Regions from separate parts of the Homo sapiens genome. Here all the other regions are linked to region 2. The links are contacts of gene promoters, found by promoter capture Hi-C in human tissues and cell types (Jung and others, 2019). All regions are on one chromosome and are shown on one strand. Each heading gives the region's core, a stretch centred on a gene start or on the middle of the fragment in contact. The rest is flanking DNA. Distances are from core to core; before and after follow the strand shown.

The links. Contacts are between HindIII fragments. The study calls those that stand out against the background at their distance.
Region 1: a fragment that was not itself captured here is called in contact with the fragment with the promoter of SARDH in region 2 in 1 of the 25 tissues and cell types used here (H1 embryonic stem cells).
Region 3: a contact is called between the fragment with the promoter of CACFD1 here and the fragment with the promoter of SARDH in region 2, in 6 of the 25 tissues and cell types used here (IMR-90 fibroblasts, heart left ventricle, mesenchymal stem cells and 3 more).
Region 4: a fragment that was not itself captured here is called in contact with the fragment with the promoter of SARDH in region 2 in 2 of the 25 tissues and cell types used here (lymphoblastoid cells and spleen).
Region 5: a contact is called between a fragment that was not itself captured here and the fragment with the promoter of SARDH in region 2, in 8 of the 25 tissues and cell types used here (adrenal gland, bladder, dorsolateral prefrontal cortex and 5 more).

The regions. Positions count from the first base shown.
Region 1 is chr9:134,053,441-134,056,362 of GRCh38, forward strand. BRD3 (bromodomain containing 3) reads right to left here. Exons shown (of 12, transcript NM_007371.4): 2 at 1-150. The coding sequence starts at 37. It overlaps LOC100130548 (a long non-coding RNA gene), which reads left to right and starts at 850. Exons shown (of 3, transcript NR_135126.1): 1 at 850-1,052. The HindIII fragment of the contact is 7,733 bases long and covers 1-2,922 here.
Region 2 is chr9:133,736,950-133,740,057 of GRCh38, forward strand. SARDH (sarcosine dehydrogenase) reads right to left here and starts at 1,403. Exons shown (of 21, transcript NM_001134707.2): 1 at 1,305-1,403. The HindIII fragment of the contact is 19,009 bases long and covers 1-3,108 here.
Region 3 is chr9:133,458,558-133,461,811 of GRCh38, forward strand. It overlaps CACFD1 (calcium channel flower domain containing 1), which reads left to right and starts at 1,421. Exons shown (of 5, transcript NM_017586.5): 1 at 1,421-1,630. The coding sequence starts at 1,510. ADAMTS13 (ADAM metallopeptidase with thrombospondin type 1 motif 13) reads left to right here. Exons shown (of 29, transcript NM_139027.6): 29 at 417-829. The coding sequence ends at 623. RefSeq lists silencers at 1,017-1,236, 1,247-1,346, 1,637-1,936. The HindIII fragment of the contact is 20,945 bases long and covers 1-3,254 here.
Region 4 is chr9:134,095,849-134,098,866 of GRCh38, forward strand. No RefSeq gene overlaps it. Among named protein-coding and RNA genes, the nearest start is that of BRD3, 29 kb to the left of the region's middle. The HindIII fragment of the contact is 7,601 bases long and covers 1-3,018 here.
Region 5 is chr9:133,369,697-133,372,807 of GRCh38, forward strand. All of the region lies in intron 1 of SURF4 (surfeit 4), which reads right to left. Among named protein-coding and RNA genes, the nearest start is that of SURF4, 4.8 kb to the right of the region's middle. The HindIII fragment of the contact is 5,558 bases long and covers 1-3,111 here.

The sequences.
Region 1 (2,922 bases), core at 338-2,837, 320 kb after region 2:
GGATCCCCGCGGGGGCGACTGTCGTGGCGGTGGACATCCTCCGGCAGCTCACTCACTTTCTGTCACAGCAGCGGCTTGGAGAGGCCCTGGCTGCTTCTACGCTCCCTGAGAAAGCGCGACGTCCCATTTCCGGGCCCAACCAGGCGACAGCTGCAGAGGAGGAAGCACAACAGAGAGGAAGGCCAGTCACCCCGGGGACCCCCACCTCTCCCAGCCTCGGCGGGCTCCTGAGGGCACCTGTCGGGCCTCAGCAGGGCCTGCTCCACTCACTCACCCCCATTGCCCAGCCACCCAGGTGAGAGGCTGTCGGGAAAGCTGCTCAGGCGAAGCGCGACCAGCTCAGAACGACTCTCCAACCACTGCTCTCAGGCACGGGAGGGAAGGCCTGGGCGGTGGAGGGAGCTCAGGCACATGCCACTTGCTCCCAGGTGGGGGCTTGGGGAACACACTGGGAGGCAGGTGTGCCAAGGGACTCAGCCACTGGCAGCCTTCTGCCCACCAACCACCCACTCGTGGGGTCGACTCGTTGCTACTGGGCTCTGACAGCTTGGCCACAACAATGTACTGAAGAGTGACCCATGCGTGGACAGCCACGGTGCGGGCCCAACACAGCCAGGGGAAGTGGGGCCGGCACAACACGGACGTTTGCAGACCCAAACACGGTGCGGGGAGGTGGTGCCCTTGAGCGAGGCCAAGCAGTGAGGTTCTACCGTAACCAGGAGAACGGGCCCAGGTTTGTGATGGCGGCGTGGTTGTGACCCGGCCTGGCTCTCGGCCAATCAGAGAGGCGGGAGCGGCGGCTCAGACCCTGCCGACCTCCACACCCCAGCTGACCACAGGGAGCTCTGCACACACGAGATGCTGGGGCTTCCCTGGCCCCGACTGGCTAGCCACAGGCAGGGCTGGCAGGAGGAGGCCACCGCCACCCTGCGTGTCCCAGGAGGGCACGGACAGTTGAGAACGCCCATAGGAACGCTGCACAGTGGAGAACGCATGCAGGCCTCCAACCATGGCCAGGGCCCTGCGGCGTGGCCCCGTGTCTACCTGTAAAGGTGTGGGGCAGACCCGAGGAGCTCTAACCCAGCGCCTGGGACTTCAACTTCAGCCTCGTACCTTGCTGCCACTTGGGCCTTTCCTGCAGTCGTGTAACTGACAGTTAGACAGGTCACGGCTGGAGGCTCCCCTCGGAGCACAGGCAGCAGCTCTGCCATGGGAGGAGCCGGCTCCGGCCCCAGAACCGGCCACTTGTAGACGCTCGGGGCAGACAGTCAAGACTAGGGGAAGTTTGTGAGCTGGGTGACATCTGGTTGGTCCCCTGAAATCTGCCTCGGTGGGCAGTTACACCACAGCCATGGGCAAATGCTGCAAACCAGGACCCCCTCCCCAAGCTGGATGCTCAATGTCGTCAGCACCCTGCGTGTAACCTCACTTCCTCCCACCCCACCCCAGAGAGGAAAGGGCTTCAAACTACACGCAACACAGCTCACCCACCAAGCATGCCAGCACGAGAGAACGTGCCCCGTCTCTGGGGCGCCCACCTGTGCCAGGGCCTCATCCAGGGAAGCCCCTCACACCCACCCTCTTCTATGCCCTCCTGAGGTGAGCGGGTGCCTCTCCACCTCACCGACCCGGTGCTCACAGCCCCAGGCTGCAACCCTGGTGCGGAGGGCAGCCCCAGGCCAAAGCGTGGCAGCACTGCCCCTCGCCACCACCACTTGCAAGGATTTCCATGAAGCCCTCCCAGCAGGGCTCCCTGCTCTGCCCCGCAAGGACCGCCTAGCCCGCACCGCAGGGTGATCCTGTTAAAACCAAGTCGGATCAAGTCACCGGTCTGCTCAAAACCTCCCAGGGGCTCCACGTGACTCAGAGTGAAAGCGAGTCCTGCCCCACCCTGGTTGGTGGGGCCTGGGGTGACCGAGTCCTGAGACCTGTGTCCTGTCTCCTGTGACTTGCGGCCCTCCCTCAAGGCCTGGACAGCAGCAGGCTCCTGCCCTTCCAAGGCCTCCAGGTAGCTCCCAGAACACCCTTCCTGCTGGGCCCCCAGGCAGCACAGACACTGGGGCCAGCCACACGGCCTGGTCCTTCCACTTCCCCACGAGGCTCCTGAGGGTGGAGGAGTCAGGCACAGAGAGAGCTCACGCCAGTTATGGGCACCAAGCACCACACGCAGCTCCGCTGAGACTGCCGGGCAGCACCCTGACAGAAGGCCCAGGCTGTGCTGCTGCTGCCTCCCAGGGCCCAGATGTCAGCTCCCAGGTGTCGGTCAGGTGGGGACATTCCCAGTATCCACTGCTGCTGCACAGGCCCAGAGCCAGGAAATGGGGCTGAAACTGACCTTTGGGGATGTGGGGGTGGTCAGGGCACAAAGGAAGGCTCCCAGGCTGCAGGCCAGCTTCCTCCAAGCATGAGGATGGACGGTCACAGCTCAACATGGGGGCCTGCTTATGCTGCCGTCAGGATCCCACGCCTGGCCAGATCAGGCCCTCTAAGCCACCCACTTCCAACCACCTGACCACTGTTTCAAACCGGAGACTGAGAAGGAGCCCAGCTCCAGCCATGGACACCGGAGTGCATGCCTCGTCCTGGGTGGGGAGGGCAGCCCCGCCCGGCCATGGACTGTGAGCTTGAGCAAGGCAGAAGGAGGGGCGCCCCAGGCTCTGCTTGGCACCAGCCCACGAGCCACGGCAGAGCCGTCCAAGGCCCAGCCCAGAAGCCCTCTTGCTGCTGCCAGGGAAATCCCGGCCAATGTGGTTAAAGCTCTGGGGCTGCACCTGGTGCCAGCATGTGCTCACTGAATGCCAGTGGTCACTACAGGCCCTGAGGGTGCAGTTTGCCTCCAGCTCCGCTACCTGGCAGAAACACACCAACCCCAACAAGACCTGGAAGGCTGAGGGGTGCAGTATAAAAAGCCCCTGGCACACA
Region 2 (3,108 bases), core at 153-2,652:
TCTCATTGAACACCTATAGACACATGATAATGTCTCTACTTCACAGCGGGGGAGTCTGACACACGGAGAGGCTCCCTGAGGTGACCAGGGTCATAGGGCCTCCATGTGGCAGTGCCAGGGACTCTCTCCTGCCCCCTCTTCTGACCATCCCAGGGGGACTCAGGACCCACTGCCACACTCTGTCCCACCTGAACTGTGGGCACTGCCCAAGCCCTGACGAAGCCCAGAACCCTGTCCTAGGCACAGTGGGGGATGTGAGGGGGATCCCAGCTCTCAGGCTGGTCAGGGCTGCCCCCCATCTCCTGCCCCAGTGCCCCATCCCAAGGGAGGGAGCAGGGAGTCTGATTGCAGCGGCGTAGGGGAGTGAGGAGGTGTTGGAGCTTGTCCTCAGCCTCTCAGCCCTCAGTGTGTCAGCCCGCCTGGCTCCTGCCTGCAGAGGTGGCCCCGGACAAGGAGGCATGCCTCCTGCATGTGTCTGTACATACCTTCAGTCCTTGAAGGTCCACAGTCTTCCAGGAGCCCCCAAAAGTGGTGCCCCACCAGGGGAAAGCCAGCTTGAGTGGCACCGAGGAAGGCCCTCCAAGGCTGAACACCCCCACCCCACCACCCACCACCCACCACGGTGCCGCATGGCACAGCACACCTGGTCAGCTGTGGGCAAAAGCCTCCCTCCTCCTTCCGACTGTGCCCAAAAAGCGACAGCTGCTGGCGCCGGAGGCTGCCACGTGCCCCTTCACCACCTGCCTGGTCAGTCAGGGCTCTTCTGACTGTCAGACTGGGGGCTGGCAGCGGCCCCAGCGGGGACAGCCCAGAGCCCCTCCTGCCTGCCACCTCCCTGGAAACAGCTGCCTCCACATTAACCCACTCTCTTGCCCCCTCCAACTCTGTCTCGTACCTGAGTCAGCTTCCCAGGAGTGAGGGCTGAGGACAGCCCTGGGCTTGGGATCAGACAGATGGGTGGGGGTTTTGTCACAGGACTGGGGCCTCGAGCAACAACTTAACCTCACTGCAAAGCAGAGGACCCAGGAACGCCCTCCTCCTCCCAGGCTCAGGGGGTGGTGGGGGTCAAGCGAGGAGAGCGCCTGGCACCTTCGCCTGGTGAGGGTAGGCAGACTTGTGGGGAGGAGCGGCAGGGGGCGGGGAGGCAGCTGCCCATATGGTGAACCCTGGTCCTGCTCATGCAGCTGGATGGTCCCTGCAGCCAGAGGCAGAGGGAGATCCCAGCCAGATCTGACCAGGCCCAGCCCCGCCCACATAGGGGAGGCCCCAGCCTCGTCCCTCCCTGGGGGTGTACCTCCAAGTACCTCTTGTCAGCTGCAGTGCCCCTCGGCCCTAAGAGTGCTTGGCCCAGCAGAGGTGCCTTCACCTTCTTGCTTCCCAAGCAGTGGCCTGGCCGGAACTCCAGGCCTCCCCCGCCCCCCACCCTCGCTGCCAGCCCCATGTCTCCGCCCAGGATCTGGGCGGAGCGTACCGCCCACCACTGCGGCTTCTAGGCCAGCTTAGTTGGGGCTTCTAGGCCAGCCCTGTGGGCAGCTCCCTCTGAGGGCGGCAGAGCAGGGTTGTGAACCCCATGCCCCATTACCCGTAGGCGACCTGGCAGTCACCCTTCCGCTCCAACCCTCATTTCCTCGTCTCTGAAACAGGCGCCTCAGGGTTGCTGCAGTAGACCCAGGCACCACCTGCCTGCTGGAGCCGCCCGAGCTCCCCGCGCCCAGAAGGAGCTATGCACAGGCAGGGTGGGCAGGAAAGGTGGGGTCAGCAGCAGCTTGGGCCAGGGGCCCGTCCACTGCAGGGAGGCTCCTTTGGTGAGGTCATCTCAGCACATGCCCCAGTTTGCTCACCCCCAGGGACAGGATGCTCACTGCCTTCAGAGGCGAGTGAGAAGGCCTGGGTCAGCTTCCCAGGGACAGGGTCTCCTGGTCTGTCTGCGTCCTGCTTTCCCGAGCTCCCAGACCCCTCTGGTGTTTGGGGAGATGCCCCCAAGCCACTGGCTACTGCACAGCACGTAGCCCCCAGGGCAGGGATTCCAGCCTCCATTGACTGTTGGGGACAGCAGTGCCCAGGGAGGGGGCCACACAGCAAGCTGGTGGAGGAGGCAGACCGGATGCTGCAGCCTGACTCTGGGCTGGGGCAAGTTACCCCTTCCCAGACAGAAGTAGACACCCAGAGGAGGGGTGTGGAGGAAACCCAGAAAGAATACACCTCTGGATGCCCAAAGAATCAGAACAGGTGCTGATGGAAAGTCACATCTCCTCCTCGCGCTGGATCAAAGACGGGGCATTTCAATGGCAGTCTGTTAATATTGTAATGATGCCAGCTGCCAATACCGGAAGCGATCGTATAGTAAACTGCTGTAATTAATACCAATCAAATCATTGTGTTCTTATTCACACCGAGGATGTCCGACTGTCTTGTTGCCAGCTTGTCTATCCTCTACATTTACTGAATGCCCAATGTGTACAAAGCACTGCTGGGAAACCTATAGTGACATCTAAGACCCAGCCCCTGCCCTCGAGGGGCTCAGGGTCCACGAAGCAGACAGATCCAGGGAGAGACACGACACCACAAGGCTGGCTTCCTTCCAGCAGGGAATCCAGGAGGACCTCTTAGAGGAGGGGGCCTGGGCTCTGGGCCTGACCACGTGCTGACACCATTCTCAGTCCCTGCCTCAAAGGCAAAGGGCCCACTGGCTTAGGCCCCTGGCTGCCCAGTGGAAAGCTGGCCCCGCCAGTTTGAGGCTTACCTGGGGTGGTGTGGGGGTCCTGGGGCAGAGGACCTCCTCTTTGGATGGTGTGGCTTGCCCAGTGGCCTGAGCTAGGGCTGTGCTCACCCAACAGGGTGACGAATGAGCTCAAGAGGGCAAGGAAGGAGTGTGGCCCAAGTTCTCCCAGGAGTCCTGGACGTGCAAGTGCATGGGAGAAAAACGCAGCAGTCACCACAGCTCCAGGGCAGTGGCCGGGTAGCCCACACTTCTCCTGTCCCTGCACTCAAAGACAAGTTGCAACTGTTGCAAAACTGTTACAAGCCAAGAGGGCAGCACAATGAACCTGCACTTTGGACAAGGGGTGGTGGCTGGGGGCCGGTCCCGGCCTGTTAGCTGTCTGTTAG
Region 3 (3,254 bases), core at 171-2,670, 280 kb before region 2:
AAAAAAAAAAAAAAAAAAAGCGAAATGGTAAAGAATGGTAAAGACCTTTCTGATGTAGACTGACAGCTAACCCAAGACTGAAGCATAATTTTACAGTCTGATATAACTTGGACAGAATAGCACCCTGCACCCTCCCCGAGGTTTCAAGTGTCCTGGGAGAACTGTGTTCTGCAGGGTATCAGCTTCCCCAGAGGAGGCAGCCTGGCCCCGCTCTGGCACCCTGACTGTGTGTCCTTGGGGAAGTGATGTAACGTCCCTGGACCTCGGTTTTCTGGGTAGAGTAATGGCGTATTCCTAGTAGGGCTTTGTAAGCATTAAATGTGATCCGGAATCTGTGAGCCCTTGCACACGAAGGCTTCCGTGAGTGCTAATTATTACTTGTGGCCGGTCCTTCTGGGCTGCCCCTTTTCTCTCAGATCCGGGACACCCACAGCTTGAGGACCACAGCGTTCCATGGGCAGCAGGTGCTCTACTGGGAGTCAGAGAGCAGCCAGGCTGAGATGGAGTTCAGCGAGGGCTTCCTGAAGGCTCAGGCCAGCCTGCGGGGCCAGTACTGGACCCTCCAATCATGGGTACCGGAGATGCAGGACCCTCAGTCCTGGAAGGGAAAGGAAGGAACCTGAGGGTCATTGAACATTTGTTCCGTGTCTGGCCAGCCCTGGAGGGTTGACCCCTGGTCTCAGTGCTTTCCAATTCGAACTTTTTCCAATCTTAGGTATCTACTTTAGAGTCTTCTCCAATGTCCAAAAGGCTAGGGGGTTGGAGGTGGGGACTCTGGAAAAGCAGCCCCCATTTCCTCGGGTACCAATAAATAAAACATGCAGGCTGACCGGCGTTTTTTTCTTATAAGCTGTCCAGACCTGGCTTGAAAACCCATCCCATGGCAAGGCAGGGATTCGCTGGCCGCGGTTGGCTCTATCTTGATCTGAGCAAGCCGCTGGACGTCCCTAGTTATCTTCTTCCTATCCAGGAAGAAAATCCAATCAGGATTCCACTCCGAGGATGGCGCATTAGCCAGCTCCCTGCGAAGCCCCACCCGTGTGTCCTGGTGTGAGGCTCTGACCGCTAAGGTGTCTGCGCGCCTCCAGGCCCCGCCCCCTATGCTAATAAGCGCCCGCCTCCTTTGGGAGCAAGTCGCCGCAAACTGCGAGCCCCCGCCCCCTACGCTAATGACGCCCGCCCCCCTCGGGCACACCTCTCCGATGCCTGCGAGCCCCGCCCCGTATGCTAACGAGCTCCCCACCCCCAGCTCCTCGCCGCAGCCTGCGGGTCCCGCCCCCTACAATAATGAGCACCTACCTCCCCTCAAACGCCCCTAGTCGCGGCATGAGGGTCCCGCTCACTATGTTAATGAGCACCCGCCTCCCTTCGGGCGCGCCTCGCCGCAGCCTGAAAGCCCCGCCCCCTATGCTAATATGCTCCCTCTCCCACAAGGCAGCGCGCCGGCTCGGACGCGGCCGGCTACCGAGCCCTTTGTGAGGGCTGTGAGCTGCGCCTGACGGTGGCACCATGAGCAGCTCAGGTGGGGCGCCCGGGGCGTCCGCCAGCTCTGCGCCGCCCGCGCAGGAAGAGGGCATGACGTGGTGGTACCGCTGGCTGTGTCGCCTGTCTGGGGTGCTGGGGGCAGTCTGTGAGTATCCAGTCGGGGAGAGGGGCCGGCCCCGCCGCGCATGCGCTCCTCGCCCTGCCCTGCCCCGCCCCGCCCCGGCGGCCCCAGGGGAAAGGACCCGCTGGGGGTCGGGGGTCTGCCGGGCGCCTCCCGGGGCGGAGGAATGGCGGGGCCGCCGGGAGCCGGCGTCCTGGGGTTGCCATGGTTACCCGCTCGGGCCTGGGCGCCTTGGTACCCCGGGCTGGGCTGGGCTGGCGCTTCTGGGAACATTCCCGGAGGGACCAGAAACCCCAGGGCGGGGGGGCGGCGGGGGCGGGGGTGGGGCACCGGCCTGGGGCACGTGACTGAGCCCTCCCCCCGCTCCCCAGGGGCTTTTGTGAGACTTTCTCGGTGATGCTCACGGGGCGCATGCCCACCTGGCCCGTACTAAAGCGTCAACTGTTGACTTGGGCGTAGGTGACGGCAGCCACATTGCTAACCTTTGGGCAAGGATTGTTTGTAAGGGAGGCGGGTGCACGGCTGGCTAGATTTCTGGCAGGAAGCCACTGGGCGGAAGTTTGCTGAGGGTCAGGTGGTGTCAGGGCACAGGTGGCCCCTGGGGCCGCGGGGCAGTGAGCTGAGGGCCCGGCCTCTCCCTGGGTCCTCTGTCCGCTCTCATATCTCCCCCGTTGCTGCTGCCTTAGCCGCCTGTCACCGGCCTTCCTCCCCTTCTCCGCACGCATCCCAGTCACAGACCCTGACCTTAGGCTGCCAGGGAAGCTAGGCTCTTAAGCACAGCCAGAAAAGGACAAAGAGGGAGGCAGGTCAGCTCCAGGAGTGAATGGAAGCCGTACAGCTGGCCTTCCAGGGAAAGACAAGTCTGTCTGAGTGATACCCTTTCCTTTCCTGTCTGCCCTCAATCTTGTGGATTACTGGAGTGGGCAAGGTCTTAGAGAATGTCTGTCGAGGATGTCTGCAGGTTTTAAACAGTGCCTGCCTGGCAGAGAGGGCTAGCTCTGGGCCTGGGCAGGGCAGGCCCCATCAGCAATCCTGCCAGAAGGACCACCTTTTCAGGGTCACCTTGGGTTCCACAGCCTTTCCAGGTGGGTAGAGGGTGGAGGGAGGTTGAGGCAGGAGGGTGCTGGGCTAGGAGTGTGCTGCCCTCGCTAGGCATGCCCTTATCCAGAGGCAACGGATACGGTAGGGCAGGCCCTACCCCCAAATCACAAAAAGGCCCCGAGTTTGTGTCACTGCTCTTCAGGGCAAGTACGCTTTTGACTTTGTAGGAGAGACTGGTGGGTTTGAAGTTAGGCATTGGATCCAGTCCTGTCATGTCTGGTTAGCTGTTTTCCCTGCAGATTAGGGTGGGCAGTGCAGTGGGGTGACATGGTCAGTGGTGAGAAAGGAAAGGTCCTGACTATGGCCTGTAGGCCACACCTCCTTCCTTCTTGGTCAGTGGCCCTGCCGACTCCCAGATTTGCTGTGGAGTCTTACTCAGTTCTGTGCCTCTCAAAGTGAGGTACCTCTGCCTTTCCTGGGAGTTCCTGGGGCTCTGTTGGGTCTACAGATGAAGCTTCAGGAGAAACTTGTGGCATTGCCCTGAGTTGTCAGTTGCATCTGCAGATTTTTGGGGGCATGGTTATGTGAACATCAAAATGCTGTATTA
Region 4 (3,018 bases), core at 26-2,525, 360 kb after region 2:
GTGGGGCCGGCTGGGTGCAGTGGCTCACGCCTGTATTCCCAGCACTTTGGGAGGCCAAGGTGGGCAGGTCACGAAGTCAGGAGTTCGAGACCAGCCTGGCCAATATGCTGAAACCCCATCTCTACTAAAAATACAAAAATTAGCCAAGCGTGGTGGTGCGCCCCTGTAATCCCAGCTGCCTGTGAGGCTGAAGAAGAAGAATTGCGTGAGCCTGGGAGGTGGAGGTTGCAGTGAGCCAAGATCGTGCCATCGCAATCCAGCCTGGGTGACAGAGAGAGAGTCCATCCATACAAAAAAAAAAGTAGGGCCTTTGGGGGTGATCAGATCGTAAGGACTCTGCCCTCTTAAAGGGGATTAATGCCCTTGTAAGAGAGGCATGAGAGAGCTTGTTCACCCCTTTCACCATGTGAGAGCACAAAGAAGGTGCCATCTGAGGAATGGACACTTAGCAGATCCTCAGTTAGCTGGTGCCTTGATCTTGGACTACCCAGCCTCCAGAACTGTGAGCAATCAGTTTCTGTTGTTTATAAAGTACCCAGTCTAAGATATTTTGTAATAGCAGTGCGAACTGACCATGGCAGCAAATTAAAACCACAATGAGATATCACTTCACACGTTAGGATGGCTGTAACCAAAAGACAAGGGATAAATGTGAGCAAGGCTGTGGTGAAAGGTACATTTGTACACTGTTGATGGGTATGTAGATCGGTACCATCATTATGGAAAACAGTATGGAGGCCCTTCAAAAAACTAAAGGTAGAACCACCATATGATCCAGCAATCTCTCTTCTGGGAATATAGCCAAAGGAGATGAAATATAAGCACTTCATAGAGATACCCGCACTCCCATGTTCAATGCGGCACTATTCGCAATAGCCAAGGCATGGAATCCACCTAAGTGTCCACTGACAGAGGCCTAGATAAGGAAACTGTGGTCTACACATGCAATGGAATATTTCCAGCTCTTCAAAAGGAGATTCTGGCTGGGCACGGTGGCTCACACCTGTAATCCCAGCACTTTGGGAAGCCAAGGCGGGCAGATCACCTGAGGCCAGGAGTTCAAGACCAGCCTGGCCAACATGGAGAAACCCTGTCTCCACTAAAAATACAAAAAATTAGCCAGGCGTGGTTGCGGATGCCTGTAATCCCACCTACTCAGGAGGCTGAGGCAGGAGAATCGCTTGAATCCAGGAGGCAGAGGCTGCAGTGAGCCAAGATCATGCCATTGCACTCTAGCCTGGGCAACAAGAGTGAAACTCTGACTCAAAAAAAAAGGAGATCCTGCCTATGCGACAACATAGATGAACCTGAAGACATTATGCTAAATGAAATAAGCCAAACATAGAAGGAAAAGTACTGCATGATCTCATGTATATATGAAATTTTTTTTTGCGGGTGGGGGTGGGGATGGAGCCTCACTCTGTTGCCCAGGTTGGAGTGCAGTGCAGTGGTGGTATCTTTGCTCACTGCAACCTCCACCTCCCTTCCTGGGTTCAAGTGACTCTCCTGCCTCAGCCTCTTGAGTAGCTGGGATTACAGGTGCGTGCCACCACGCCTGGCTAATTTTTGTATTTTACTAGAGACAGTGTTTCACCACGTTGGCCAGCCTGGTCTTGAACTCCTGACCTCAAGTGATCCACCCGCCTCGGCCTTCCGAAGTGTTGGGATTACAGGCATGAGCCACAGCACCTGGCCAAAATATTTTTTAAAAGTGTCAAATACGGCCGGGCACGGTGGTTCACGCCTGTAATCCCAGCATTTTGGGAGGCCGAGGCAGGCGGATCACGAGATCAGGAGATCAAGACCATCCTGGCTAACAGGTGAAACGGCATCTCCACTAAAAATTCAAAAAAAAAAATTAGCTGGGCATGGTGGCGGGAGCCTGTAGTCCCAGCTACTCGGGAGGCTGAGGCAGGAGGATGGGGTGAACCTGGGAGGCAGTGGTTGCAGTGAGCCGAGATCGAGCCACTGCACTCTAGACTGGGCAACAGAGCGAGACTCCATCTCAAAAAAAAAAAAAAAAGGTGTCAAATACATAGAAACAGTAGAACAGTGGTTACAGGGGCTTGCAGGTGGTGGAGATTGAGATGGAGGCCAAAGGGTACAAAGTTAAAGTTACACAGGATGAATGAGTCTAAAGATCTAAAGTCCAGCGTGAGGACTATAGTCATCAATAATAATGTATTGTATACCGAAAACTTACTGAGAGTAGATTTTAGGGGCTCTCAGCACGCACACAGAGGGGGCAACTATGTGAGACGATGGACATGCTCATTTGTTTGACTGTTGTAAGCATTTCACAACGTTACATGGTGCACATTATTATTATGATTACAAACAGGGTCGCACTTTGTTACCCAGACTGGAGTGCAGCGGTGCCATTATAGCTCACTGTAGCCTCAAACTCCTGGGCTCAAGAAATCCTCCCGTCTCAGCTTCCCAAAGCTCTAAGATTACAGATGTAAGTCACTGTGCCCAGCCTGCGCTTTAAATAGTCTATATTTAAGTATTAATTATGGCCGGGTGCGGTGGCTCACGCCTGTAATCCCAACACTTTGGGAGGACATGGTGGGTGGATCGCTTGAGGTCAAGAGTTTGAGACCAGCTTGGTCAACATGGCGAAACCCCCATCTCTACTAAAAATACAAAATTAGTCGGGCATGGTGGCACATGCCTATAATCCCAGCTACTCGGGTGGCTGAGGCAGGAGAATCACTTGAACCTGGGAGGCGGAGGTTACAGTGAGCTGAAATCATGCCATTGCATTCCAGCCTGGGTGACAAGAGCGAGACTCTGTCTCAAAAAAAACCCCCAAACTATTCCTTAAATAGTACATTAGGTATATATGAAATAGCATATATTTAATAATAATAAAGAAACTGACATGGATATATTGCTATTTTTTTTTCTAGACAGGGTCTCACTCTACCACCCAGGCTGGCATGCAGTGGTGCAATCAAAGCTCACTGCAGCCTTGAACTCCTGGCCTGAAGTGATCCTCCTGCCTCAGCCTCCCAA
Region 5 (3,111 bases), core at 115-2,614, 370 kb before region 2:
GCAACAGTGTAATCACCCATATTCCATGGAAGAGAGAAAGCACACCACCGTGGCACACGATGTGCCACTGCTCTCAAGGAATGGCCTCACATCGTGGCCCAGCTGGGAAGCCCCAGCAAGGACACAAGCCTTTATCTCATCTGAACCTGGGGAAAAGCAACCACTGGGAAGGAAGAGCTCAACAGGAGGCTGTCCAGACCTCTGAGATGAGACGGAGCCGTGGTGGGACTCCCAGGGCAGGGTGTGGGTGTGGGGCGTGGACCCCAACAGCAGCAGAGAGGTAGACTGCAATCCATACCCAAGACAGACACCAGAGGTGTTCTGACTTGCTTCTAAAATGAGAGCTGTGAGCCACTCACTGGCCTGAGATGAGCAAACCAGCCCAGCCATGGGCTGCGGTCTAAGCCTCCCCCAGTTGCAGGACCTGCATTTAACATGCTCATCTACGTGCACAGCCCACGAGATTGAGGCAGTGTTTAAAAGTCTCTTTGAATGAGTCTGCGACTCTTAATTTGAGTGTCTGGGTCAAGAGGATTAAAGAGCAAAAAAGAGAGAGAAGGTGGGACAGGCAATTCACACCTCCTTCCCTGCGCAAACATGGTGACGAAACAGACACAGCTCTTGGCTTTGGGGAAAAATATGCAAAAATCTAGGTACTGCCTTCTGAACTGAGCACACCTACTGCTTGGCTGTCCTGGTTTTCAAAGGCAAGCCTGGTCCACACTGAAGGCTGAAGTCAGGCTGATGCAGTCTCCTCTAAACTGGCCACCATTTAATGAGCATCTGTTTGGACTGAACACTGAAAAAGCCACGTTTAAAGACAAGGCCCAACATTAACCTTATTTCCTACATGCATGTTGGTCACAACTACTTCAACTTGGCCACTGGAACCATGTCATGCCACTCTAGAACACGTCCCAGAGCCAGTGTCCCCTCAGCACAGCAGAGAAGAGCCCTCAACACAGGCAGGACACACAGCACCCCAGGACAGACAAGAGCAGCCGCACTGCAGGCACTAAGGCCATTGCTGGTAGCCAGCACACAGGTGACCTGTGTAAACACGGCGAGCACATAAAACTTGTGACAGTCCCCCTCCCCCCCATTAGAGAACTGCGACAGCAGAGCCAGAGGTGGCTGTTGACCTGGCAGGCTGCAGGAAGAAGATGACAGTTAGCTCACCTCTGTGGCCAAGCTTCTCATTAAGTCTCTCCGAGAACCGCGCCATCAAGCAGGATATGGTTCATAAGCAGTGACAGCATCTGAGGGGCTTAACAGGAAGACTGATATTTCTCTCAAAGGGGTGGTTATTTTAGACGACTGAAGGGGATTTTAGAAACGTAATTAATTATATCCACCCTGAGATGACTTCCTGGGCATCCAGTGATCACTGTCACAGCCACCTGCAGCTCCCACGCCACACAGAAAACTCCACTTTCTCTTCACACTCAGGACAGAAAGAAATTGAGGAAAGCAGCTTGCAAATTCGTGGTGAATGTGAACATCGACGAAAAAGGCAGGTCAGATTTCCTTGATCACCAAGGACTGGGGCTGCCTTGTTCAAAGCCCAACTCAGGTCCCACACATCCTAGAAACAAGCACCTGCGGCCCAGCGGCTTCCCTCACATCAGCCTGTCAGAGCTGGCTCGAGCTCACTGGCTCACTGCAGCTCCAGAACTTCCCCGAGCCCCGCTCCCATGCTGCTCTATAGGTTCACACTGCACCCTGCAGGGCCAGAAAGGATGTCGCCAGCCCAATGTGGGAGATGATGGCCTGGCTTTACTAAAAAACTGTGTGATCAAAATCCCAACTATAGGAAAGACGTAACTGAGAACGACTGGGCCCCATGTTCTGGGAGGAGCCCCGCTAACCACAACCTCCTCTGCTCCTCGCCCGCACTCCCCTGAAGAGTGAGTTTTAACCTCCCGTTAAGATCATCACACAAAGAAAAGTGAGTCAGCTCCTCTTTGCCTTCTCTCCCCACTCCTTCATGATATAGGGCAGGGTATGACAGAGCCTGCCACTGTCACCAGGACTTTGCCACACCAGTCACCAGCATGGTGTTCATCGGGACCCTCACAGTGCCTGTGCCACCTGCAAGTTCAGGGGTCCTCAGGCCTATCCTTGCTTCCCCAGCACTTCAACTAGGGCCGAGGCCAGCTCCTAGGGCCCAGGACTAGCTCTGCCACTCTTGAGGACAGGTTAAAAACACCAAAGGTCACACTGGAGAGGAAGGCCCCATGCAGCTTTTCTGTCACCTTGGTGATGAGCCACCAGGCAGAACCCATTAAGTGCTAATATTGCTGTTTATGGGTATAAACTGCTTAGAAGCTACATTTTACAGAGTGTCTAATAGGCAATGAGGAGCAGCTGCAGGCATGGACATTAGTTTGGATTGCTGAGTTCATTAGTTTCTGGACCCTTCCCATGGCTTCCAAATGCCAAGCTCCTGCATAGAGCACGTCTCAGCAGTTTCTACAGAGCATGGCTCCTGGGAGCAAGAGGACACTGTCCCTGGCTGCCAGAGCAAGCAGCTTGATGCCAGAGGCAGAGAGACAAGAGATGCAACTGTGGGGAGCCTGCCAGCAGAAACTAACCAGACTGCTCGTCCCCGTGGACCAGCCTCTGCAGGCCAGAAGGAAAGATCAGTCAACCAAGCAGTGAGGAACCCAGCCTTTGGGGTAACAGGATGCGGACTCAGTCTCCAGGCCACCACAAGCCAGTGCGGCCAGCCAACCTCCCTCTGCCCATCTGAAGATGGTGACGCTCTGGCCAACCTCCTACAGTCAAGAAGTTCACAAAAGGAATGTCTATCATGGACCCGGCCCAGTGAAAGACTTAATGTCATTGTCATAATACTGGAAGACACTGGGCCTGGGAAACTAAGCTTACTTAGGTCTTGCTTTCAGCAGCCCACACTTTCTGGTCAAATCTTGTCACTTCAGTTTTGCTCTTGTTTTCTGAAGATGTGAAAAAATGGATGTGTCACTTTATCTGATCAGTGACTTCCATGGTAATCCTCTATCGGCTTCAAATTAGGTCATTTTCATGTAAAAGCCTGGTCTGGCAGCTTTAAGTACTATGTGAATAAAGAGAAACAAAGCCCCACCTGGG